Regions from separate parts of the Homo sapiens genome. Here regions 2, 3, 4 and 5 are each linked to region 1. The links are contacts of gene promoters, found by promoter capture Hi-C in blood cells and fetal thymus (Javierre and others, 2016). All regions are on one chromosome and are shown on one strand. The core of a region is centred on a gene start or on the middle of the fragment in contact, and the rest is flanking DNA. Distances in the headings are between cores, read along the strand shown.

The links. Contacts are between HindIII fragments. The CHiCAGO score rates a contact against its expected background, and 5 or more counts as called.
Region 2: a fragment that was not itself captured here is called in contact with the fragment with the promoter of RBM19 in region 1 in 1 of 17 cell types (total B cells); the score reaches 5.9 in total B cells.
Region 3: a contact is called between a fragment that was not itself captured here and the fragment with the promoter of RBM19 in region 1, in 2 of 17 cell types (activated CD4 T cells and total CD4 T cells). The highest score is 5.9, in activated CD4 T cells.
Region 4: the fragment with the promoter of TCP11L2 here is called in contact with the fragment with the promoter of RBM19 in region 1 in 1 of 17 cell types (total CD4 T cells); the score reaches 7.1 in total CD4 T cells.
Region 5: a fragment that was not itself captured here is called in contact with the fragment with the promoter of RBM19 in region 1 in 3 of 17 cell types (monocytes, total CD4 T cells and total CD8 T cells); the score reaches 10.3 in monocytes.

What each region holds. Positions count from the first base shown.
Region 1 is chr12:113,965,075-113,970,064 of GRCh38, forward strand. RBM19 (RNA binding motif protein 19) reads right to left here and starts at 1,251. Exons shown (of 24, transcript NM_016196.4): 1 at 1,118-1,251. The coding sequence starts at 1,153. RefSeq lists enhancers at 1-601, 602-1,529, 1,488-1,557. The HindIII fragment of the contact is 5,534 bases long and covers 1-2,147 here.
Region 2 is chr12:119,680,357-119,685,391 of GRCh38, forward strand. LOC124903033 (a long non-coding RNA gene) reads right to left here. Exons shown (of 2, transcript XR_007063485.1): 1 at 4,966-5,035. PRKAB1 (protein kinase AMP-activated non-catalytic subunit beta 1) reads left to right here. Exons shown (of 7, transcript NM_006253.5): 7 at 1-1,263. Among named protein-coding and RNA genes, the nearest start is that of PRKAB1, 15 kb to the left of the region's middle. RefSeq lists enhancers at 1-50, 1,646-1,705, 1,876-2,005. The HindIII fragment of the contact is 854 bases long and covers 2,198-3,051 here.
Region 3 is chr12:107,753,310-107,758,427 of GRCh38, forward strand. PRDM4 (PR/SET domain 4) reads right to left here. Exons shown (of 12, transcript NM_012406.4): 3 at 3,523-3,656; 4 at 615-800. PRDM4-AS1 (PRDM4 antisense RNA 1) reads left to right here. Exons shown (of 5, transcript NR_120474.1): 4 at 4,966-5,083. Among named protein-coding and RNA genes, the nearest start is that of PRDM4, 5.3 kb to the right of the region's middle. The HindIII fragment of the contact is 2,346 bases long and covers 1,645-3,990 here.
Region 4 is chr12:106,300,067-106,304,923 of GRCh38, forward strand. It overlaps TCP11L2 (t-complex 11 like 2), which reads left to right and starts at 2,667. Exons shown (of 10, transcript NM_152772.3): 1 at 2,667-2,875. RefSeq lists a silencer at 2,305-2,424 and enhancers at 2,445-3,330, 2,505-2,584, 2,595-2,734. The HindIII fragment of the contact is 6,335 bases long and covers 1,694-4,857 here.
Region 5 is chr12:119,660,981-119,665,912 of GRCh38, forward strand. All of the region lies in intron 1 of PRKAB1-AS1 (PRKAB1, TMEM233 and CCDC60 antisense RNA 1), which reads right to left. Among named protein-coding and RNA genes, the nearest start is that of PRKAB1-AS1, 4.7 kb to the right of the region's middle. RefSeq lists an enhancer at 4,721-4,865 and a cis regulatory region at 4,785-4,802. The HindIII fragment of the contact is 1,101 bases long and covers 1,641-2,741 here.

The sequences.
Region 1 (4,990 bases), core at 1-2,500:
AACTTGTCCAACATGGCGAAACCCCATGTCTCTACTAAAAATAAAAAAATTAGTCGGGCTTGGTGGCGCGTGTCTGTAGTCCCAGCTACTTGGGAGGCTGAGGCAGGAGCATCGCTAGAACCCGGGAGGCAAAAGTTGCAGTGAGCCGAGACTGCCGAGATTGCTCCACCGCAGTCCAGCCTGGGAGACAGAGCCAGACTCCGTTTAAAAAAAAAAAACAAAAAAAGAAAAAAACAAAAAACAAAACCAAAAAAAGCCATGAAAGAGAGAGAAAAAAAAGAGATAAGACAAACAATGATAAGAGAATCAACTACACTTGAAACACAACAAAGCTGAATTTGGGAGGGAAAGGAAGTGCAGCTACGCTAAAAATCCTCATCCCACAAAGCGAGGCATCAAGAGACACTGTCTAACCTGATGGAAGGAGCAGTAATCCATTTAAAAACAAAAAAACAAAACAGAACAAAAAACAGCGAGAGAGAGAAAAAAGGATGATCCATTCGAGCCCACCGCATCTAATCATCTAATATTACGTACATTCACCTATTTTGCCTACCACGTGTCGGGTTCTGCGCTGGGCTCCAGGGAAACAAAAAAGTATGGCTGGGTCACCACTCCCCACTTACTGGATAAATGCTGTAAAGCCCTTTACCCACTCCGTATTCCTACTTGCCCTAAGGATGGGAGTGGGAATTGGAACGCAGGTCCGCAGATTAATATTCCCCATGTCTTCCCCAACAGTTTCCAGACTGGGAGAGGAATATAAATACAGTGTCGGACCATGTCCCGGGTCAACAACTAAAAAACAGTGATCGAATGAAAGAGGTTGTGGGAGCAGGGTATTCGCCACAAGGTGGGAGTTGTCATCTCCCCGAGAAGAGGTGTGTTAGGAGTCAGGTACCAAACAACCGGCCGTGAAACCGTAAGCAGTCACTATTCCTCTTTCCTCGGGATCAAATGGGGATAAGCCCAGGATCCCGCCCCCTTTGAGTTCAGAATTGGCCCGGAGTCCTGCCCCAGAGCAAAAATTCTTCGATCACCTCCAGGCATCTCTTCCCTACCTCACAGCTCCCGGCTGGTCTCATTTCAGATTCCCAAGTCCTGCCTCTGCACTCACCCCATTCGGGAGATTCTTCACGATCAGTCGCGACATGGCGCAGGGTCCCCGCTGTTTTGATTCCAACACGACTGGTCAGCGTCTTCCACCAAGTTTCACGCTACCGCCCTGGGCGCCGCCATCTTTACCGAGCCGGAACACAGTCACGTGGCTGAGACCTTGGCCTGACCTGTCCGGAAGTAGGCGTGGCTAATCCAAAACTACTCAGGGAGGTCACACCCCACAAGGGGTGGGCCTGGGCGCTTGCATTTTGCGCAGGCGCAGGGCCTTGGGCGGATTCTGTGAGACGCCAATGCAGCGGAGAAGGCGGCAGGGGGCGCCGGTCCCTAACATGCGCCGGTTTAGCTCGGTGTTAAGGGTCGCGCCAACCGGGCAATCGCGTTCTCTCCTTTTTCTTATTTTATTTTTATTATTGAGCCTTAGGACTCCCCTGAGAACGGGGGCAAGATTAGGGACCCTTGCCTTCCTCGTAGAAATGGGGAAAGTGAAGTTTAGAGAGATTGCCAGCCAACACAAATCAAGTATTGAGCCTTTTGTGTAAATACTTGGAATGAACATGTTGGAAATAAACGCTCTCATTTTGCAGGCAGATAAACTGGGAATCGTGCGTGTAAAGCAGCTTGCTCAAAGTCTTATAACTATGAATTGGAAAGTCAGATTCGAGCTAGGGACTGCCTAGGGCCCTACAATGAGTCTCTACGCCTTCAACCCCAGCCCCACAAGCATTTTGCCTCCCTTCCTAATGTTTGGAACTCTCAGCTGGCCAATCTTCTAGCTGAGAGATCTTGGCCAAAATGGCCTCTGAGCCTTTGTGTCTACTTCTATAAAATGGGAATAATTCTTTATTATGCTAGGGGTTAAGGAGGTGAGAACGTGAAAGGGATGTTATTTTCCTATTGCTTCTCTGAGCATTCTCGGTACCTACTCTTGGATGGAGACATCCTATGAAAACCCCTATTTTCACTCTTAAATGACGGTATTTCCTTTCTGTTTCCCCACAGTGCCTCAGCTGCACTGGACGTTGCTGCCAAGCTTCTGCAATTTCCTTCACCTAAAAGACATTCCGTCCCCCCTTCTTATTGTTAACAGCTTTATCACAAACCATGCAATTCACCCACTTAAAGTGCACAATTCAATGGTGCTGACTATATTTACAGAGGTGTGCAGCCATCACCACAATCAATGCTAGGACATTTTCATTACCCCCAAAGAAACACCACACCCTTTAGCTATAACCTTCCAATTCCTCCCTCTCCCTTCCCTCTGATAACCACTAATCTACTTTCCGTCTCTATGGATTTGTCTGTTATGGACATTTCATGTAAATGGAATAATACAATATGTAGTCTTTTGTAATTGACTTCTTTCACTTAGCATAATGTTTTCAAAGTTCTTCCATGTTGCAGCATGAATCAGCACTTTATTTATCTGTTTATTTATTTGAGACAGGGTCGGGCTCTGTCACCCCGACTGGAGTGCAGTGGCACAATCTCAGCTCACTGCAACCTCCGCCTCCCAGGCTCAAGCCATCCTCCCACCTCAGCCTCCTGAGCAGCTGGGACTACAGGCACATGCCACCATGCCTGGCTAATTTTTTTTTTTTGGTAATTTTTTGGTAGAGGCGAGGTTTCAACATGTTGCCCAGGCTGGTCTTGAACTCCTGGGCTCAAGCAATCCACCTGCCTTGAACTTTCAAAGTGCTGGGATTACAGACGTGAGCCACCACACTTTTTTTGCTGAATAGTATTACATATATGGATGTATTACATTTTATTTATTCATCAGTTGATGATGGACATTTGGGTTGTTTCCGCTTTGTGGCTACTGTGAATAATCTTGCCGTGAACATTTACCTGTAAGTTCCTGTGTGGGCATATGTTCTTATTTCTCTTGGATATATTCCTAGGAGTAGGATTGCCTGATCATATGGTAACTCTATGCTTAACCTTTTTAGAACCTGCTAACCTGTTATCCAAAGTGGCTTCCCCATTTTATATTCCTACCAGCGGTATATGAAGGTTCAAATATCTCCACATCTCCTCCAGTGTTTGTTATTGGGTCTTTATAATCATAGCCACTCTAGTGGGTGTACAGTGGTGACTCAATGTTTTGATTTGCATTTCCCCGATAACTAATGAAACAGCATCTTTCATGTGCTTTTGGCCACTGGAATATCTTTCTGAACCCATTCCCATCCCCTCTCTAAGACCAGCTCAAACATGGCATCCTCGAATATGCCTCTTTCCTACTGAGCCCCAAATGCAGGGAGCTCATGCATCTGCCACAGCATAAACCTACAGAACTCGCTGGTGAGGAGCGCACAGTGTAGGTTCAGAGTTATAGATGAGGCCACTTGTTCTTTCTACATTATGTTGCCATAGGGGCATCCTTAGATCCATCTTTGCAAAGCATCACACTGGGCACCAGGAGGAGACAGGTAATAGGAGTTCATTAAATGCTAATTGTAAATTAAGGTCTGTCCATTCAACAGAATTCTATGCAGTTGTTAAAAAACGGTAGGTATGTAGCTATAAATGTTTTTGAAGGAAATGCATCAGTCAGCAGGACACAGAGGTATACTCAAAAGGATTTAACAAAAGCAAATCTGGACAAAAAGCTATTTACAGAAGGGTGGGCAGTGTAGTGGGATGAATGATCCCCTGTCCCCTCACCACCACACACACTGGGGGCATCCTGACCCCTGGAAGCTGTAAATGTGACTTTATTTGCAAAAAAGTGTTGTATTAGTTTGTTCTCACGCTGCTAATGAAGACATACCTGAGACTGGGTAATTTATAAAGGAAAGAGATTTAATGGACTCACAGTTCCACATGGCTGGGGAGGCCTCACAATCATGGTGGAAGAGCAAGGGATGTCTTACCTGGTGGCAGGCAAAGAGAGAATGAGAACCAAGTGAAAGGCTTTCCCCTTATAAAACCATCAGATCTCGTGAGACTTATTCACTACCACGAAAACAGTATGGGGAAACCACCCCCATAATTCAATTATCTCCCACTGGGTCCCTCCCAGGACACGTGGGGATTATGGGAGCTACAATTCAAGATGAGATTTGGTGGGGACACAGCCAAACCATATCAAGGGTCTTTGCAAATGTACTTAAGGGTCTCAAAATGAGATCATCCTGAATTATCCTGGTAGACCCTAAATCCAATGACACATGTCCTTTTAAAGGACACACAGAGAACGTCATGTGTAGGTGGAGGTAGAGTCTGGAGTGATGCAGTCACAAGTCAACGAAGACCTGGAGCCACCAGAAGCTGAAAGAAGCAAGGAAGCGTTCTCCCTTGGAGGTTTTGGAGGGAGCATGGCCCTGCTGGTGCTTTGGGGGATTCTGGCCTCCAGAAATGTGAGAGAATAACTTTGCATTGTTATGCCATCTAATTTGTGGTAATTTGAGACAGCACCTGCAGCAAATGAATACAGGAAGGGTTAAGGGAACCAACAAAGGATGGCCAAACCCCAGGGCCTGGCAACAGTGGGGAGCTATCACCACCCCTGGGGCTGAAGGGCAGAGTAGGACATGTCATTCCTGAGCTTCAGTGATGCCAGGAGCCATGGAAGAGGGACGTACTTTAAGGACTAGAGCTATAGAGAGATACAGCCACTGTGGAACCACAGGTGTGTGTGTGTCGGGGATAAATACACTGTCCCCTCTTTCTCTTCCCAACTGCAGTTTCCTACTGGAGCCTCCCCTTGGCCGAACCAATGGGAAGCTGGAGGCATGATCACAGATGTTGCAGTGCACACAGATTGCATCTGGGGCACAGAGCAAAGTGGAGGAGCAGGCTCAGGGAATGGGAGATGGGCTGTTAGAGAAGAACTAGCACATGGGACATGGGACAATCTCCAAAA
Region 2 (5,035 bases), core at 1,375-3,874, 5.7 Mb after region 1:
AGCACACCACCAGGCTCCACACGTGCATGCTTTCCCCAAGAGGGAATGGACTGTACATTGCTCATTTCACACTCTTCAGAAGACATTTCATACCTGCCCTGGTCCTGCTTGAAGGTTTGTCCAGGCAGAGCAGCTCCTGCAGCGCCTCGGTCTGTGACAGTCCTCCTAGCACCCCCATGGCTTTGAGCCTCGGGGACTCATCAAGTCCAAGAAAAGAGGGAGGGGTGGCAGAGGATCTGCAGCCCTGGCCCCGCGGTGCATGAGGCTGGGTGCAGTTCTAAACCTACATTCTCGATTTTTCTTAAGCCAAAAATGAATGCTAACTCCTTTGCCAGTAAAATTCTGGGAAACAGGGACTGAGGCCACACATCATTTCCAGTCATCTGTGTGTTTTTAAGGCCAGCCACTTGTCCCTGTTGAGGCCTGGCTATGGAACTAAATACAGTGTTGGTCTTGCCTGTCCTTCAAAATCAACAACAGATTGTCTCTCGGCTCCAGGGAGGTGTCATTTCTATAGAAATTAGAAGCTTTCTGATTTCTAGATGAGGTTTTACAATTGTTTCTTACAGTCATGTGCACTAAGTACTCTTTTTGTAAGCAGAGGTGGCTGGCTCTGCAGCCTTAAGGCCATTTTTTAAGTCACCACGTCTAGAAGTCACATGAACTCTGCTCAGCAATAATCTGTTCTCAGAACAGACTTTTCAACCTGCTGCCGGATTTCTCCATTCAGCTGGATGATCCTCAGGACTGACCAGTTAGCTGGCAGGTTGTCCAGCTTTTTATTCCAGTCATAATAGGTGACAGTGTTAACCGTGAAAACTTGAGAGGCACTCTGCCCTCTTCCCTATAAAATCACACAGCGTGATTTTACAAGGTCCCGTGGCACCTTGCTCAGGACCTCTGCCCCTAGTTAGCAAGACTGCAGCAGTTGCTGTTGCTTATTCTGAAAGGAATGTAGAACTTGACAGCAGCCTTCTGAGTCTGGGTCAGGAAGATGTCCTTTGGACCAAAGCAGACTTCTTTATACGCAGCTCAGTTTCCCGGGAGTCGCCACAGATGTACCCACTAGCCCAGGTTGCTGTGAGTCAGCGGAAGCTCCCGTTATGCCCTTTGCTCCTGGTGGGAGAGGGAGGAGTGAGCTCCCTGGGTTCCAGTATTTACTTGGTATACCTGAGTTTGGGGGTACCCTTTTTTGTGACTTTTCAAAACAGTGAATTACTGTCACCTTGATGGACAAGTTTCAATAAAACTTTGTAAAAATAATTGGACATGTGCCTGGAGGAGCTCTGATTTTATTCAGTCCCTTGGAGAAGAGACTGGAACTCTTCGAGAGTTGCGTTTCAGTACCGTTCTTGTGGCTCTGAGCGGACAGGGCTACTCCAGCTGCCCAGGCCTGAGAACCAGTCCTGTGACTCACACCCATTCACACAGTTTGGAACCTTAAGGGACCCCTAAAACTGAGCCCCTCTGAACAGCTCAAGTCACAAGGGGAAGCTGAAGAGGGGTAACAGCAGAGGCTCCTGGCTTCGGCCAGTTGTTGGTGTCCCCAGGCCAGAGGGTTTGTTTCCTTTTGCTCCTAAACAAGCCCGGTGGGACAGCCTGGGATCGTGACCCTGGCGTGTGAGAGAGCAGGACGTTGTGGAGTCAGAGCTGTTTTCATCCACTAAAAGAGGCCGTGTCCCTCCTCCAAAAAGGTGGAAGGTTATGGGTGTTCCTTTAAGCCTTCTCAGGTATCAGGAAACATTTTAAATTTAGCAGAAAAGCATGCTAATGAGCTCTACCCACTGGTGCAGAAAACCCAAGCTGAAAATGCTATGTAAAATAAGACTGGTTTACTGGAGCCAGTCACCCCATGAGTTCTCCAAGCCCTGGGGCCACAGGGGACTTCCAGGTGAGGTCACTGCTGAGATGATGGAGGAGACACAAAACAAGAGGACATGGTCAGAGACAACACATCTCTGTGCGTATTCAAAGGATTTCATTTTCTTTAAAAAGCACATTATAGTCGGAAAGCCTGCCCACCAAGTGAAAGCCTCCATACCCAAGAAGCTAAAGGTTAATGGTGATTTTACAAAGGTGGAAAAGGAGACCTTGTTTTGCCCAAATCACAGGGGCAAAGCCATATGTCAAATCGTGTCCTATGACCAAGTAATCCTTTCTTCATTAGCATTTCCTTTATGGGTGAGGACTTAGTTAAAGCTTAACTCAAATTGCTTTTCAATGAAGATACATTTTTCCCTCTAGAAGCTGATATACAGATGAATTTATAGAGCCAAATTAAAGCCTAAAAAATTACTAAAATGTAAATCAGTATTGCAGGGCTAAGGCCACAAACAGGAAGTCAAAAGGCCAGACAAGAAAATTGTGCCTGCACCTCAGCTAGCTCAATTAGGAAATCTCCAAGGCTCCTAAAAGACTGAGAGAAAAAACCTGGAACATCATGATACGATCTGTGGCTGAGGTCAGAGACTGAACGAGCCAGTCTAGGAAAGAACAAAATTTCATTTTAATTCAGTTCCTTTTGTATGAGCACAGTTTCACTTTCAAGCATTTACTTCCCATATCTGATCCTCCTCTGCTATTGTGTCACCTTCAAAATTCAAATGTCCCCAATGTGATAGTATTAAGAGGTAGGGCCTTTAAGAAGAGATTAGGTCATGAGAGCCCCTCCTCTCATGAATGAAATTGAGGTTCTTATCAAAGAGGCTTCAGGCAGCATTCAGCTCATGTGCCCTGGCACCTTCTGCCATGTGAGGACACACAGCTTTTCTCCCCTGCAGAGGACCCAAGCACAAGGCGCCATCTGGGAAGCAGAGAGTAGCCCTCACTAGACAAGCAAACCTGCCCATGCCTTAATCTTGGACTTCCCAGCCTCCAGAACTGTGAGAGAATGAATTTTTGTTCTTTATAAATTACCCATTCTCAGGTATTTTGTTAAAGCAGCACTAAATGGGCTAAGACATCCACCAATGTTTACAAATGGTTTGAATGAATTGATGAAGACCCAAGACATGGACCACTCATCAAATCATAAAGTTTCTGAGGAATAAAAGCTTCAGCACTCATCTTGGCCAGCAAATTAGTGGAGAAACAAACTAGAGCCTTCTGCCCTGGTATGCCAACTATAATTGTCTTCAGGAGAAAACATGGAAGTTGTAGATACGTATACATTTCTTCTAAAACCCCAGTCATCCCTATTAATTGTAAAAACATCCACAGGATCCTCCTAAGAGTCATCGTCACTATAGTGAGTCAGACATTTGGAGAAGATCCCAAAAGCTGGAGCAGCAGCCGGAGCCCCGTCTCTGGGACCCCAGCCACTGGCTCTAGAACGAGCCACCAGGCTCTGCCCTCAGGGTGGGCTCCCACAACTACATTGTCGTCTTGTCTTTCATACAACTAAAGAGCCTTTCCCCAGATGAGGATGCCAGCTCTTACTGCTACCTCCCCCTAAAAGAATTCACCCATCCCATCTGAAATACTCAGTGGCCAGTGAGAACAGGCCAAGATGTGTATACCCTTGGTCGATTTTTTGTTTCCTTTTTTGTGGCTCTCTGAAAGACAGCCTGACTTATGCAGAGTAATAAAGTCATTTTCAAGGTTCTTTCATCTACCTCTAACAATCTCTCTAGGGCAAATAGAGTTCCGTTCATCATTAACAGACTCAAGGGAAAACAAAGTGATCAACACTGGACTCTATTTCCACTACCCCCACCCTCCCCAGCTTCAGGAAACAGCTTCAGCATTTGAGTGGGCAAATAAGAAACTATTTTTCTCATTTAACACTGTAGGCCTAGAGCCACGGTCTACATGCTTTAGACATCATTAGCAGTATTTAAATTGCCAAGGAAGACATGGGACTAAAACTAGAACAGACCACGGTTTCTCAACCTTGGCACTATTGAGGCTTTGGGCCAGATAATGCTTTACAGTGGGGGGCTGTCCTTTGCCTTGTAGGATGTTGAGCAGCATCTCTGACCTCCACCCATTGGATACCAGTAGTACTCCCGAGTTGTGACAACCAAAAATGTCTCCAGACATTGTCAAATGTCCTCTGGGAGGAGGGAAGCAAAATCTCCCCATGGCTTAGAACCAGTGGAACAAGCCAGTGTAACCACTGTATTCTGAGAATGGAATCTGAGCTGGCCCCCACGAATGCTTTCTATAGCAAATCACATTCAAGAGGTCCAATTCTGAAGACAGTCCTATTAAGCAAATTCTCTTTTGGCCTAACCCTCCAAATCCTAAAGTTCCATGGTTATGGAATTTGCTATGCAATCAACCTCTTTAGTCCGGTGACAATTAAGTTGTAAGCGCAGAAAACATGACATCTAATTTTGTGCTTATGAAACAGGAGTGGCCAGCATGAAGAGTTAGGCCTCATTTTACGGTGTGGCTGTGGAATTGGTTGGTTGTTTCTTTCGGGCTATTCCTTAGGGTTCAAACACTCTTCCTTGGCACTTCCTTTTGAAACCAAACTATGTTGACTTAGCTTTGGAAGTTTTCTGTGACCTCCCACAATCCTCTAGACAATCACTGAAATGCTTGGTTGATATTTAACAGATGTTTTTCTAATGCTACAAGGAAAGAAAGGTTCACATTTCACCACTTCATCTTCTGAATTATTTTCATTCTTACAACTACGACCTTGTGGCAGATTTTCATGCCCAACAGTAACATCGAAAAGAACAGAATTGCATCTGTGGTTCCCATCACAAGCAACAAAGACAGATACGACTCTGCGAGTCCAATTTTGACCGTGGTCAGACGACTTCATTAGAAAATAAAAATTCAAAGACTACAACCCACAGGAACCATGAAAACAAAAACATCACCATTTGCCAAAACCCGTTTGTCTGGATCGAGCAAGTTTATACTAACAAACTAAAGAATGAGAAAAAATTTATCTTGCAGACTGTAAAAGTTCCTCTACTTAAAAATGGAAGTATTTTCATTTTTAATTACCTTTGATTTGAATTCTTCTCTACAAAGAAATCTACATTATTAAATTGTAGTTGGCCTTTTAATAGATGAA
Region 3 (5,118 bases), core at 1,568-4,067, 6.2 Mb before region 1:
TCACTGGAGTCCAGGAGTTCCAGTCCAGCCTGGGCAAAATAGTTGAGACTCCGTCTCCATTAAAAGAAAAAAAAAAAAAAGAAAAGAAAAAAGAGAGCAAGAGAAGAAACCGTGGTCTTAATTATGAAAATTGGTAAAAACCTATACACCAAAACAAATGGCAGGAAGGAAGTACACCAAAAAGATGGATGATGGGACTGAGTGGTTCCTTCCCTTATTTGCTAAATTTTCCGCAATAAGCATATAATACTCCTATAACAGAATAAAAATTCAATGAACTTAAAAAACATGACACTATAACAAGACACTATAGTGCTTGACTGAAATTATAGCTGTAGAATTATAAACACCAAATGAAAGAGATACTGGAGGAGAAAGAAGAAAAATTATGTGCAATTAAGAAATTCAGCTTAGTCAAACTGTATTACTAATGTGTTATGTGCCACATTCTAAGAGGAAAAGTACATAAATATAAACAAAGATACTTTTCCTGCCTAGAGATTAATATCTAATAGTGACAAACAGAAAAAAGTGTTATTCATATCTTCAGGATAAAAGTTTAAAAGCTGGCGCCGTTCTTTTTCTCTAACATCTCAAGTAACTGTAACACTTACCAGGTAGAATGGTTCTGAAATAACTGCTCTCCAGGTGAGGGTAAGGTGGTGGAGGTAGGGTGTAGTTTCTTTCAGGTAACCCACACATCACCCCTCGATCCCCAATACCCATTGGTAGCATTAAAGACAGAGCAGAAGGCAGAGAGCTCAGGGAGGGACCCAGGTTTGGAATTGCCACTGGGAGGCCTACAAAACAAAATTTTTTTTCTCAGTTAAAAGAAAATAGGTAATTAAAAATTCTCACTACAACCACTGGCTAAACTCTTAGAAAGGTTTTTACACATGGGCAAAAATCTCACCTACTAGCCCTTTTCATCCTTAGATAATGTGCAAATATCCACAAATAAGCCTAAAGAAAGTAGTCTTAGTCCCAAAGATAGTTTTTAAGTTAGTTCTAAACCGGCAAGTTGATACTCCAATTGTCTGTATTGCGCTTAAATACAAAAATATTTAATTAATTAATTTATCGATTGATTTGAGACGGAGTCTTGCTTTGTTGCCCAGGCTGGAGTGCAGTGGTGTGATCTCAGCTCACTGCAATCTCGGCCTCCTGGGTTCAAGCAATTCTCCTACCTCAGCCTCCTGAGTAGCTGGGATTACAGGCACACACCACCACACCCAGCTAATTTTTGTATTTTTGCTAGAGACAGGGTTTCACCATGTTGGCCAGGCTGGTCTCGAACTCCTGGCCTCAAGTGATCTGCCCACCTCAGCCTCCCAAAGTGCGGGGATTGCCACCATGCCCAGCCAAAATATTTAATTTAGAATTAAAAACCGAGTTTAAATACAAGAAAACAAATTATATAGAGAAAAAAACAATGGAAACATAAAATGTTCATAGGAGTAGTCCCTAGGTAGTGATAGTATGAAATTTTTTTGGTATTTTTAAACTTTATTGTATTTACCATTTTATATGGTGAGAATATTTCATTTCTACCTGGAAAACAACGTAGTTTAGTTAGATGTAAAACTGTACATGTACACCTTCATACAATCTTTTGTATATATGCTACACTTAGTGATTAATAAAAGCTTTAAACGTGAGATTATATCTACTTTGAGTTATATGTACTTGCAAAGTGAAGTGACTTTTACTGGGCTAAGTATCATAATAAATACCCACCAACTTGGTCAGTGCTGATTTGCATATTTTTGCCAGGGGCAATATTTTTTTTTTTTGAGACAAGGTTTTGCTATGTTGCCCAGGTTGGAGCGTAGTAGCATGACCATGGCTCAGGCAACCTGAGCTTTCCTGGCTCAAGTGGCCATCCCTTCTCAGCCTCCTATGTAGCTCCTACGTAGCTGGGACTACGGGTGTGTGCCACCATGCGCTGCTAATTTTTTTTTTTTTCTTTGTAGAGATGGGGTCTCCTTATGTTACCTAGGCTGATCTTGAACTCCTGGGCTCAAGTGATCCTCCTGCCTTGGCCTCTCAAAATGCTGGGATTATAGGCGTGAGCCACTGTGCCTGGCTGGCAATATTTTTTAACAGGCTTTTCCACCTTAACAAGAGTGTCCACTAAAGGGAATGCCTACAAACAATCAAGTGGGTTAACCACTAATAATTTTTTAAGATTTCTTTTGTGGACACTTAAACAAATGTGAAGAGACCCTAGTTTCAATGAATCTTATTTAACTGCTGCATTTTATTAATTAAGCAAGTAATTCTCTTTAGAGAACTATTTAAACAATATATAGATTTATTTATACTAACTCCTACTGTGACAAAGAAAGTCCAATACATAACAATGTCATTGATCCTAAAGAACTGACAGCTTATCATTGTAATAATCAATAGAATATTTATTCCATTTATATTCTATTTCAATAGAATAAGAAAATGAAGCTAGGCAGAAAAAAGGTTTTAAAAGTACAGTGACGGCTGGCGCGGTGGCTCACACCTAAAATCCCAGCACTCTGGGAGGCCGAGGAGGGCGGATCACCTGAGGGCAGGAGTTCGAGACCAGCCTGGCTAATATGGTGAAACCCCGTTTCTACTAAAAATACAAAAAATTAGTTGAGCATGGTGGCGTGTGCCTGTAGTCTCAGCTACTCGGGATGCTGAGGCAGGAGAATTGCTTGAACCCGGGAGGCGGGCGGAGGTTGCAGTGAGCCGAGATCGTGCCATTGCACTCCACCTTGGTCGACAAGAGCGAAACTCCATCTCAAAAAAGAAAAAAAAGAAAATGAGCCAGGTGTAGGGGTGCATGCCTATAATCCTAGCTACTCAGGAGGCTGAAGCAGGAGAATCACTTGAACCCGGGAGGCGGAGGTTGCAGTGAGCCGAGATCGTGCCCCTGCACTCCAGCCTGGATGACAGAGTGAGACTCCATTTCAAAAAAAAAAGGATAGGAAGAATGAATTTTTCCTATACGATTTTGCTGTGTATGGAGGCTCATGAGGCGTTCCATGTAAAAGCCCCAGGTAAAAGTACCACACTTCTTTCCACATTAATTCTAGACCTGGTACACTTGCAGTTATTGCCATTTAATTTCAAACCTGGTGGAATATAAAGCCCAATTCCCCATGCTCTCTGGGAATAGTTATTAGAGTAATTTTAACTGATTCTCTTCTATTAACCCAGGGAACGGGTACTGAAGTGTGAACCAGATGAATGGGCAGCCCTAAATAAAATGCCAAGTTAATTACAGCTCTGGACAAAAAGCTACCAACTCAGAAGAGGACTATCAGAAAAAATTGCTGCTACTATCCACTAGAATTCTAATACTCTACCTCTACAAAAACCTTATTTTCCATTACCTATCACATGTTGAACCACCATTCAGGCCTGCTTACCTTCTCCCTTCTACCTTCTACCCTTAAAGGGGCTCTGATCTCTTCTAGACTCCATTTAGAATTGATAACAGAGTTAAGTGTTGAAATGCAGTAGGTCTCCCTTACCACTCACCTGGGGCAGGGATGGCACTGTGAGTGGGTGAGGCAGCCAATCCCAGGTGACTTCCTGAGACTGGCAAGGCATTGCTCACAGAGGATGAAGTCAGCTGCTCCATCCCCACTGGACTCAGGTTCATTTCATTCATCCTAGAAAAGAGCACACACAACTAGTTATGCAAAAATTTACTCCAATGACTCTGTATTAAGATACTGAAGAAACTGAAACAGTGGGGATGGGGAAATGGGACTTGGCCAACTATTAGTTCACTTTTACGCTCAACAATTCTCTTAGATAGCTAGTGCCATATTCTTTCTACTGATAAGAAAACTGAGATTGAGACATTAAAAACTCAATTCAATGTCACATAGCAGAAATAGGATTTGAATTCTGCCTTGTTCGAAACTCTAGGCACACCATCTAAAGCAAAGTCTGCAATTCTTAGAGCACAATGGCAATGACAGTTTTTTTTTAAATCACTCAAGCTTCATCTTTTATAATATTTATTTTTCTCCAAATGGCTTATTATTTCAAACCAGTAGTGTTTTAGGCAGCGCATTTTAACCTACTCAAGTAAATTTTACTAATCATTTTTAATAGGAGTTAAAGATCCAGATTATCGATGATGTGAAAAGCATCGTATTTTCCCCATTCAGCAACAGTTTACTAAGATTCTGTATCAGTATATTAATGTCCTCCAAATATTGAGGGTCATTATGTAAGCTTTGCTACCACTTCACTTAAAATGACTTCAAATCCTCACACCAATACTGCAACGTAAGATAGATGAGGGAACTATGGCTCAGAGAGGCCATGTCATATGCCCCAAATCACATAGCTATTAAGTGAAAGATCACAGATCAAACTGCAAAACACTGCCAAAAAGTTTTTCATTGCACCAAACTTTTTTTTAACTGCACCAAACTTTTTTTTTAACTACAGACTATTTTTGGCAAGGTGAAGAACCTAGGAATCACCTTTTCTATGCAAACCATCTTGCACTGCCATTACAAATGTCTTTCGAATAAGAGTAATACTGATTTGAATAAAACAGCACTGAAGGTTGTTATCAAAAAGTATTAGTTCTTATATCATAATTTAGAGACTGCCATACTATAAACATTACAGAACCACTAGGCTAGCCAACAGGTTACCCAAAAGGGGCTCTCTAATGACCTCCAGTCCTTACACTGGGCTTTATTCTCTGCGTATGGGAGGGGGTGAAGCAGAGAAGAGGAATCAAATGAGGTTACATATTCCTTAGCAGTGAAATCAAATCTAAATAGGTTTTTAATTCTGAAAAATGGCAATGCCATTTTATCAATCAACCTGAAAATAATAATAGCTAAAATTTATGGCTCCCTTACCATGTGCTATGTATTGGGCTAAGTGATTTATATGTAACTATCTCTCTTAATCTTCTTTTTTTTTTTTTTTTTTTTTTTGTTTTTGAGACAGGGTCTTGCTCAGTAGCTGCAAGCTGGAGTGCAGTGGCGTGATCACAGCTGACTGCTGCCTCTACCTCCTAGGCTCATGAGATCTTCCCACCTCAGCCCCCAAGCAGCTGGGACCACAGGCAAGTGCCACCATGCCTGGCTAATTTGTTTTTAT
Region 4 (4,857 bases), core at 1,417-3,916, 7.7 Mb before region 1:
TGGTTCAAAAAGGTAAGTTAGAAAAACTAGGTGTAATAATATGTCTTCTTCAAATAAAATGCTAATTATTTTACTTCTAAAGAGGTTGCCTTTTCAGATTTTGTTGTTTTTTTTTTTTCCTCAGAAAGCCATAAACATAACCTGAGCAGGGAAGATTTTGTGTTATGACTGTCTGAGCCCTCTGAGCAACAATGTGATACAAGGCTCATTTTTGAGGGAACTGCCTTATATTTTACAGCACTCCATTTTTTCAAAGTGTTGTTTTTGTTTTGTTTTGTTTTGAGATGGAGTCTCGCTCTGTCGCCCAGGCCGGAGTAAAGTGGCGTGATCTCGGCTCACTGCAACCTCCACCTCCCAGGTTCAAGCGATTCTCCTGCCTCAGCTTCCAGAGTAGCTGGGATTACAGGTGCGTGCCACCACGCCCAGCTAATTTTTTTGTATTTTTAGTAGAGACGGGGTTTCACCGTGTTAGCCAGGATGGTCTCGATCTCCTGACCTTGTGATCCACCTGCCTCGGCCTCCCAAAGTGCTTGGATTACAGGCATGAGCCACCGTGCCTGGCCCAAAGTGCTTTTATACACAAGTCAGGCCAAGGGCAGTTGGTCAGGTAATTCACAGAAGGGTTTTCAGATAGCAAGTTATTTAACATTAAAGTAACAGAAGATAGTATTTCCAGCATCTTTTCTTATCTCAGCTTGGTTCTCTGATGTTACAGTTGAACTTGCTTTGACAAAAGCTGCTTTCCTGGTGGCTTTGAGAGCTACATATCTGAACTTTAAAAGAAGTGTCATGCCTAGGATCAGGCAGCTGGTCACTCCAGTATAAAGGACAACTACCCTGACTCATGGTCACCTGCTCCAACTTATGTCATAGCTCAAAACAATACTTAAATCCTTACAAAGCTAACAAAGGAAGTAATGTTGCCATGTGTCATTGTCACAGAATTACCAGAAGTTTGGGGGATTTGGGTGTTCATCTTTCTATTGTGGAGTTTTTAGGGTGGTGATGGCAGTTGTGTGGTGGTTGTCATTTGGCAGGAATTGAAATTGGAGGCTTCTGTCATTCTGATTACTTATCCAACGAATGACACAAATAAGAGCATGTTTGTAGGGAAGAACTCAGGTGGGGACAGCACCTTCTATTTAATCTCTTAACCTGTATTATTAGGTTGTATATTTTAGGAGAAGAGAGGAAAGTGGCAAAAGGAGGCACAGATACAAATTTATACAGATCACCAGCTAAGTTTGGCCACAGTGGTTTGCCAAAGAATTTCAATAACTAATACTTAGAGTGCTTACTGTGCACCCTGCTAAGCACTTCACATGCTTTATTTCACTTTATCCTCAAAATAACCCAAGGAAATAGCTATCATTGTTATCCCCAGAGACCAAGATCTCATGGATAGTGAATGTCAGAGCCAGGACTGGAACCATAGAGGAGTCTGTGTTGTAACCACTGAACAACTGACTTTCTACCCTGCTTTAAAATGTTGCCTGTTGTTTGTTGTTGTTGTTTTTGAACGGTGGTGGCCAATCTGCCTCCACAATCCAGACATAATTTCGGCACTAAACAGAAATACTTTAGTCTATACAAACTTCATGTAAGTAGTTCCTGCATGAAACTATTTCCCAAGTAATACAGCACCGATTTACACCTGGCAGAAGGCATAGTTTTGATGTGAACAGTTGGGGGAAGCTTGTTTCTCTACACCCTCAAGCACGCCCACAGCAGGAGCTGAGCAGCAGGCCAGACGGCACAGAGCCCTCCTGGGACTGGTTATTTACATTAACCAAGGTGGAAACTTCTCCCGGAGATAGGTGCTGCCAAGAACCCTAGAGGAAGTAAGACGCTTTATCTTTTGCACGCACGCCAAGTCTTCAGAGGGCCTGGATGGGTGTGACTCCAAGGAGCTAATCGTCCCGTGCAGGTGCAAATCTAGACCCGTGTTTATGTGGAGGTGTAGACGCAACTGGAGATGACCCGGTTAGTGGCTGACGTGCGTGGGAAAGCCCACCAGCAGCGTTGTTGGTTGGGTTGTCTCTGTAAGTGTGGACAGTGTGTTGGTGGGCACCCAGTTCCGATTGCCCCGTCTAGACAGGGGTGTGCGGGCACTCAATGTTCCACGCGCGGCCGGGAGCTCGCAGTGTGGTCCACGCCAGTGCGCCTGGAAGCCCAGGGGATCTGTCCGGCACTCCACTGGAGGCTTGGCCCGCGGCTTCGCCCACCTCCCCAGAGCCCCGCTCAGCCCCCGCTCCCCCCGCTCAGCCCCCGCTCAGCCCCCGCTCAGCCCCCGCTCAGCCCCCGCTCAGCCCCCGCTCAGCCCCCGCTCAGCCCCCGCTCAGCCCCCGCTCCCCCACTCGGCCCCGCCCCCAGTGCCCTGGCAGGCCCCGCCCCCAACGCCGGGCGCTCCCGTCGGCTCGGCGGCCTCAGTTCCGTAAACACTTCTCACCCCGCCCCCGGCAGCCCGGACCGCACCACTCGCCGCGCGGGGGAACCGTGCCCTCTCGCATCCGAAACACCCTCCCATCCGAGCTGTTCTCGGCCTCTCTGGTTCAAACTGACGAAGACTGTTTCTCTAATAGGTTCAGTCTGTGAGCGCTCGGCTTTCGGAGACTGAAGGGCCCTGGATCCCCTTGCCCCGTCGCGCCGTCGTCCCCCCGCTATCCGGTTTTGTGATGGCCGCGCCGTGGCTGCCTCCCTAGAGTCCCTCAGGGCCCTTTAAATACCGCGTTGGGGGGGACACTGGGGCTGGGGGGGTTTGTTGGGCTGGTGAGTTTTCGAGGTGACTGTGCTGTGCTCGGTGAGGGGACGCCCAGAGAGCCCTGACCCGGGGTCACTCCGTCGCCGTTCTCCTCTTGTCTACGTGCTGGACCCGGTGCGTATCCATCACGGGGGAGGCGTTGCCGGCTCGGAGGTGACCGGCCAGGTCCAACGGAGGGGACACCGCTGCAGCCCGAAGGCTCCCCTGCCCTATCTCGGAACTCCATCCTGGGAAGGCGGGGTCAGGGGCCATCAAGCTCGGCTCCTAGTTCATGTCTTCCCACTCCGCGTCCCCTTGTTTGACCTCGAACTGCCGTCCCGCGTGGGAGCGGGGAGCGGGGCACCGAGTGGCCGCCCCGCGTGTCGGGGTGGACACGGACTTCGGGCCTCGGAGGCCGCTTCGCCGCTGTTTAAATCCTGCTGGACAGGTACCAGCGGCATCCCGCCATCAGGGGCCCAGGGCACCCCCTTCCCCCACACTCCTCGGCCGGGCTGGAGTAGGGAACTGAGCCAGGGTAGAGGCAGGGCGGGCCCGGCAGCGTGTGTTTGGGATTTGTTGCCGTGGTTTCCCCGGCACTCAGCTCTGCCTCCGCCGTCCCCTCCCCCAAGGGTTTGTTTTGACAGGAAACCTGGTGCTGCTGGAGGGGAGGGGCGGCCAGAGGACGTGGGTGAGGTCGTGCAGACTGCTGCTGCGTCCCCTTGCCGGGACCTTTGGTTAAGGGGAAGAGGTGGAGAAAAGCCGATTGGGCCTGGGCTCGAACGCTGAACCCTCAGGTGTTGCTTGTGCTTCCCAAAGCTGCTACTGTAGGTGGCACCACTGGGGGTAATAGCAATGATTTGAGGTGGCATATGGATGAACATAGTTACTTGTTTTCGTTACTATTAAGAAAATCTGTTCCATTAAGTAAGCAGTTTCACAATGATAGAGTTTCCTTTTAAAATAAATATATTTAAATGCAAAAATCTAGTCAAGATAGAGACGCGGTTACTAAATTATAGTAAAGGTAAGGAGGGAGACGTAGAAATAGTCATGAAGAGTGGCACTCAAACGACTTAAGTTTGGGAAATCTTAGATGGTTGTCCTGCTACCTTAACTGTGAAGAAACTGGACAAGTTGTCCTTGTCCCCAGTGGGTGTCTCAGCACCCATGGTCACCAGCCCAGTCAGGGACTTTGCTCTTCTTACCTGCCAACGGATAATGAGTTAATCTCAGTGGTTCCCACTTGAGGAGGCTCCCTGCCGTGGTCCTTTTCCTCTCTTCTCTAGGGATTTCATGCATCACCCTGACAGCCAGTGGAAGTTGCCTGATTTGAAGAGGCCCAGGGCCGAAGATACCCAGTCATGTGTGGAAGCAGCTTCAATGCCATTTTGTGAGAGGTTGAGGGCCCCAGAGGGGGAAGCACAGGTATTAAAACAAAACAGACCAGCAAGTGTGGGAGGAGTGCTTTCAAATGTGAAAAGTGCCAGGAATCCTTCTCCCTGATGCTGTAATGCCACGTGTAACGTGAACATCTGCTTTGTGGACAGTGACTGGCTTGTTGGCTTTTATCTAGCTCTTTGTTGGTTCTAACTTGATGAAGACCAGTATTGTCTAGATGAATGGTATGGGCCCCTATCCCTCTGCTCTATGGTTTTTGCTTTGCTGTGGATGAATAACTTTAGTGCTGCTATTTAAGACTGATTCTAAAGCAGCATTTTGCAGAAGATGGAAATTTTTCACATCATCTGCAATTTTTTTCTTTAGAGCCCAGACTTAGTCCTCTGACTCCCTTCCCTTTACTACACATATGTGAAGGCTTGTCCTTGCAGCTGACCTCGATCTAGTGTTGAAGGATGGTACACACTAGAAGTTTCTTGAAATTTCTTTTTTGCGTGAGCTAACCTTAACTGGATGGGTTCAATTCCTCAAGGCCCTGCTGGGTAATCTGAATATTTCACTCCAAAATGTTTATGACTGTAAGCAGTTAACCTTTTTGCTAATACGTGGGGTCTAACTAGGGATTTTGCGGTGCATAAAGAATGGCTCCCTCCTAGAGGATTTTCTGTCACTGTAGCGGGGTGGTGAAGAATTGTTTTGGGTGACGTACTCCTTCAGTG
Region 5 (4,932 bases), core at 941-3,440, 5.7 Mb after region 1:
TTTCATATAAATGGAATCATATAATATATGACCTTTTGTGTCTGGCTTATTTCACTTAGCATAATGTTAATATTTTTGAGGTCATCCACATTGTAACATGTAACAGTACTTTATTCCTTTTTGTGATAGAAGAATATTCCACTGTATGAACATACCACAATTTGTTTATAATTCATTTTGTTATTGTTGTTACAGAGTCTTTCTCTGTCGCCCAGGCTGGGGTGCAGTGGCACAATCTCAGCTCACTGCAACCTTCGCCTCCCAGGCTGAAGCAAGTCTCATGCCTCAGCCTCCCAATAAACTGGGATTACAGGTGTGCGCCACTACAACCAGCTAATTTTTTGTATTTTTAGTACAGATGGAGTTTCACCATGTTAGCCAGGCCGGTCTCGAACTCCTGGCCCCAAGTTGATCTACCCACCTCGGCCTCCCAAAGTGCTAGGATTACAGGTATGAGCCACTGTGCCAGCCTACAAACTCATCTCTTGGTGGACATTTGGATTCTTTCCACCTTCTGTCTATTATGATAATGCTGCCGATCCCTGTTTTTTAAAAGTCTCCATGGTTCATCATATCAAGAAGAATGATAATCTCACAGTACCCTGGACCAGAAACCAAGACATAAGATCCAAATTATGATCTATGACCACTAACTTTTTCTATAATTCAGCAAGCTATTGTCCCTCCTCATCTGTAACCTATGTGGTTGAACTAGGATTTTCATGCAATTAGTGTGTCTTGGGAGGTGTTTCTGAGTATTTATTTGGAAGGTGCTCCTAAAAAGAGATAAAGAAAAGGAAAGGAAGATAATCAATGAATTCCTTGATCCAATTACTGCTGTGGACATCTAGGGTGCATTTCCACTGGGGACCTCTGAGACACGGTAGGGAATATATCTTAGTTATACGAGAGCTAAAAAGAAATTATTTAGACAGTTAGTGAGGGTAAGAGAGTCCTCAGTAAGGTTTTTCTTTTAATAAAAACGCAGTCTCCAAATCATTTCTTTTTTTAACAAAAAGCAGCCTGAAAAATCAAGCTGCAAGCATAGATAAGCAAGCTAGAGGCTTGCATAGGTAAATACCAGCAGCTGTGCCAATAGAAAACAGATAGCTGGAAACCAGGTATATTCAACATGGAGGTTCCCTCTTCCCTTTTCTTTGTTGCCACGTGTGCAGATAACATGGCACCAGCCAGGTTTTTTAAAATTCCATTTGCATAATAAAAGATTAGAGTGGGATGACCAGCCTCTTCACGGGCTATGAAAATGGCACATCTGGTCCAACCAATCCACTACACCCCATGTAAATCATATACCATCTCCTCACGCTCATCCCTAAAACCAACCACACCTTGCCCCAAACCAGGGAAACCCACTCAGGACCCCTTCTTCTGCATGAGGAAGCTCTCTTCCTTCTTTCATCTATTTAACTTTCCACTCTTAAACCCACTCCTTGCATGGCCATGTCTTCAATTTCCTTAGCATGAGACATCGAACCTCGGGTGTTACCCCAGAAAAATGACGCTGCTTCATTAGAGTTAGCACATCCAAGGGGCAAGGGAACTGGCTCCTCTGTGGTTGGCTGAGGGCTTCTCTCAGGGTGTCTTCTCTGGTCCCCTTGGGTTCCCACTTGTGTCGACAAAGCTTTCTCCAGAAGGCCCTCAGAGTTGCACCTGCTCACAGTTAGGAAGTTTGGGGCATGCGCAGAAGGGCACATGCAGATGGGGTATGATGGTCCCAACAGCATATGTTAAAGTGATTATGAAACTTTGATATTCAAATCCCTGGGAGCTTACATTTTAAAGAGATGAGACAGAGACAGACTTCCTCTCATTGTTTTCACCTCCGTTGGATCTTTGCCTGGATACTGCTTTAGTTTGTCACTTGTCCTCTAGAAAAGGGGTAGAAAGTGTACATCCTTTTCTCCTCCATTCCTTCAAAGCTCTTAAAAGAGGATAGAGATGCCAGGTGCAGTGGCTCACACCTGTAATCCCAGCACTTTGGGAGGCCGAGGAGGGTGGATCACCTGAGGTCAGGAGTTTGAGACCAGCCTGGCCAACATGGTGAAACCCCGTCTCTACTAAAAATACAAAAAGTAGCCAGGCGTGGTGGGGTGCGCCTGTGGTCCCAGCTACTTGGGAGGCTGAGGCAGAAGAATCGCTTGAACCCGGGAGACGGAGGTTGCAGTGAGCCGACATTGCACCACTGCACTCCAGCCTGAGTGAAAAGAGTGAAACTCCATCTCAAAAAAAAAAAAAAAGAGGATAGACTTGAGGTGAACTTTATTAAGAACATTGTGTTACCTTGAACTGGGCACTTCTCCCTTCTAGGTTTCAGCTTACCCTGTGAGTGAAGCTATTTATTTAAAAAAAACTTTATTGAAAATAAAATAAAGATACAGGAAACTACACAAAAGAAATGTATGGCTTAGTAAGTTACTACAAGGCAAACATGTTAATAATTACCAACCCAGGTCAAGAAACAGAATTTTCTCAGACAACCTAAAAGTCACAAAATGAGGCTATTTGCCAATTAAGGTTGTAGACCAAATGCTGTAGAATGAACTTCTTTTAATTCTATGTTGATGACTCTCTGTCACAATATTCACATCTCAGTGCAAAGAGAACACAAGAATGTCTAGCAAGAAAAGATGGACAAGTTTCTCAAACATTGGCAGTGTTACTTACATTGGCTAGGCAAAATTCAGAAGGCCTGGTGGAAATCTGGTTAAGCCCTAAAAGTAAGCTTGTAATTCTATCCTAGCAGCCCACACACATTTGAGTCTGTCTTAGTCAGCTCAGACTGCTATAACAAATCATCAACTGGGTGGCTTAAACAACAGAGATTTACTTCTCCCAGGTCCGAAAGCTGGAAGTCTAATATCAGTGATATAATTTGGATACTTTTCCCCCTAAATCTTACACTGAAATGTAATCCCATGTTGGAGGTGAGGCCTCCAACATGGTGGGAGGTGACTGCATCATGGAGGTGGACTTCTCATGAATAGTGTAGCACCATCGTCTTGGTGCTGCCCTCACAAGATCTGGTTGTTTAAAAGCGTGCGGCACCTCCTCCCACTTTTTTTCTTACTCCCACTCTTGCCATGTGATACATCAATACATCGGCTCCCCCTTGGCTTCCTGAGGCCTCACCAGAAGCAAGCAGATACCCAGAGCCATGCTTGCTGTACAGCCTACAGAACCATAAGCCAAGTAAACCTCTTTTCTTTATAACTTACTCAACCTCAAATATTTCTTTATAGCAATACAAGAATGGCCTAATACAATCAGGGTGCCAGGATGGTTGATGTGTGGTGAGGGCTCTTTCCCTGAGTTGCAGATGGCCGCCTTCTTGCTTTGTCATCACATGGCCTTTCCATTGAGCATGGGCGTGAATAGACAGCATGCGAGCAAGCTCTCCAGCGTCTCTTCTTCCCATAAGTACCCTGATCTCATCATGGGGGCCCCACTCTCATGAGCTCATCTAACCCTAATTACCCCTTGAAGGCCCCACCTCCAAACATTATAAAATTGGGAGTGGGAGTGCAAATGTATGAATTTTGGGGGGATACAATTTAGTCTACAGCATAGTCCAAATGTGAAATTTCTTCCTCCAGCTACCGATGTTTAGTGAGAACACTGCCTGTTCTCACCACATGTGCATATGTGTGTGGACTCTTTCCTCTGGAGGGCAAGAACTTGGTTTTGTTCACTGTTGTAACCAAGAGTTACAACAGTGCCTGGCTCATAATTGGCACTCAATATTGCCATTGAGTTATTTGTGATCAGAGCCCTGGCTGTTCTTAGATGGGGAGGGTTCTTCAGAACAGTACAAATGTTTGTAGACAGGCCAGCTGGGGAACCAAAGGTCTTTTTGATGAGGTGCCATGACCATGATGTAGTGGGGAGTGGCCAGGTGATCCAGAATTCAGTCTCAGTATGACCTATGATCATCTGAGTGACCTCAGGCAAAACTGTTCGATCTCTGGGACTTAGACTCTTCCTTATATAAAACAAATGGGTTGGTCAGTTCAGAAGTGCTATACTGATTCTAATCCATCCTATGGAGGAGGCCCCAAAACATTATCCTTAACCCTTTTAATCATAAATTTAAGGATAAATGAGATTTTATCTCACTCTGGGTGACTTTTAAGGACTTGAAAACCTACTTCTTTTTGTGCTTGGAGCTGGAGTGAATTTGAAGCCAGGGTTGCGGGGGTGGGGGAGGGGTACTCCTAGCTGTGGCTGTGTTAAAATTGCCCTGGTTTGTTTGGGGGAGAATCTAGGGTATTTATCATTTGTCTTTGCCCTGGTGCCAGACAGACAGCAGTGAGTAGATGATGCCTTTTACACAGCAATGTGCTAACAGTTATACTTCCTGGCACACCTCCAGCCCCCAAGATGGAATGGTCTGACATCCATATCAGCAGAGAATCAGAGAAAGATGAGACGCTCTGATGCTTAGGAAAGTCACAAACCATTGTTACACAGATAAGTAACACAAAATGACCCAAGAGAGACACAGCTGGGACCCAAGTAGACACTTGTAATTGGCGAGTCTACCCTACCCATGATTTTCAATATGGGGTCAATAGCTGATAGATACCAATGTTAGTTTCTTTGTCATGAAATCTTGATACAATGTGGTAAGAGTTTCCAATCAGCAGTTGGTGGCATCCTCAGGATATTGTTGATTGTATTTGACATCAAGGGCCACCCATGCTTTCACTGTTATCTTATTCAAGCTAGTGCAGATGTCTTAAAACTTTCTTCATGCATCAAAGCATCTGCATAGCTCAGATAAAGAATCCACAGCTCATGTGTTCTTTCTTATCTCTCCGGCTGTTTGGGAGAGATTTCAAAACTCAACACCCCACTGTCTCATGTAACCAAGTCAGGGCCACTATTAGAAAAGCAGCTCAAAGAAGATATCCT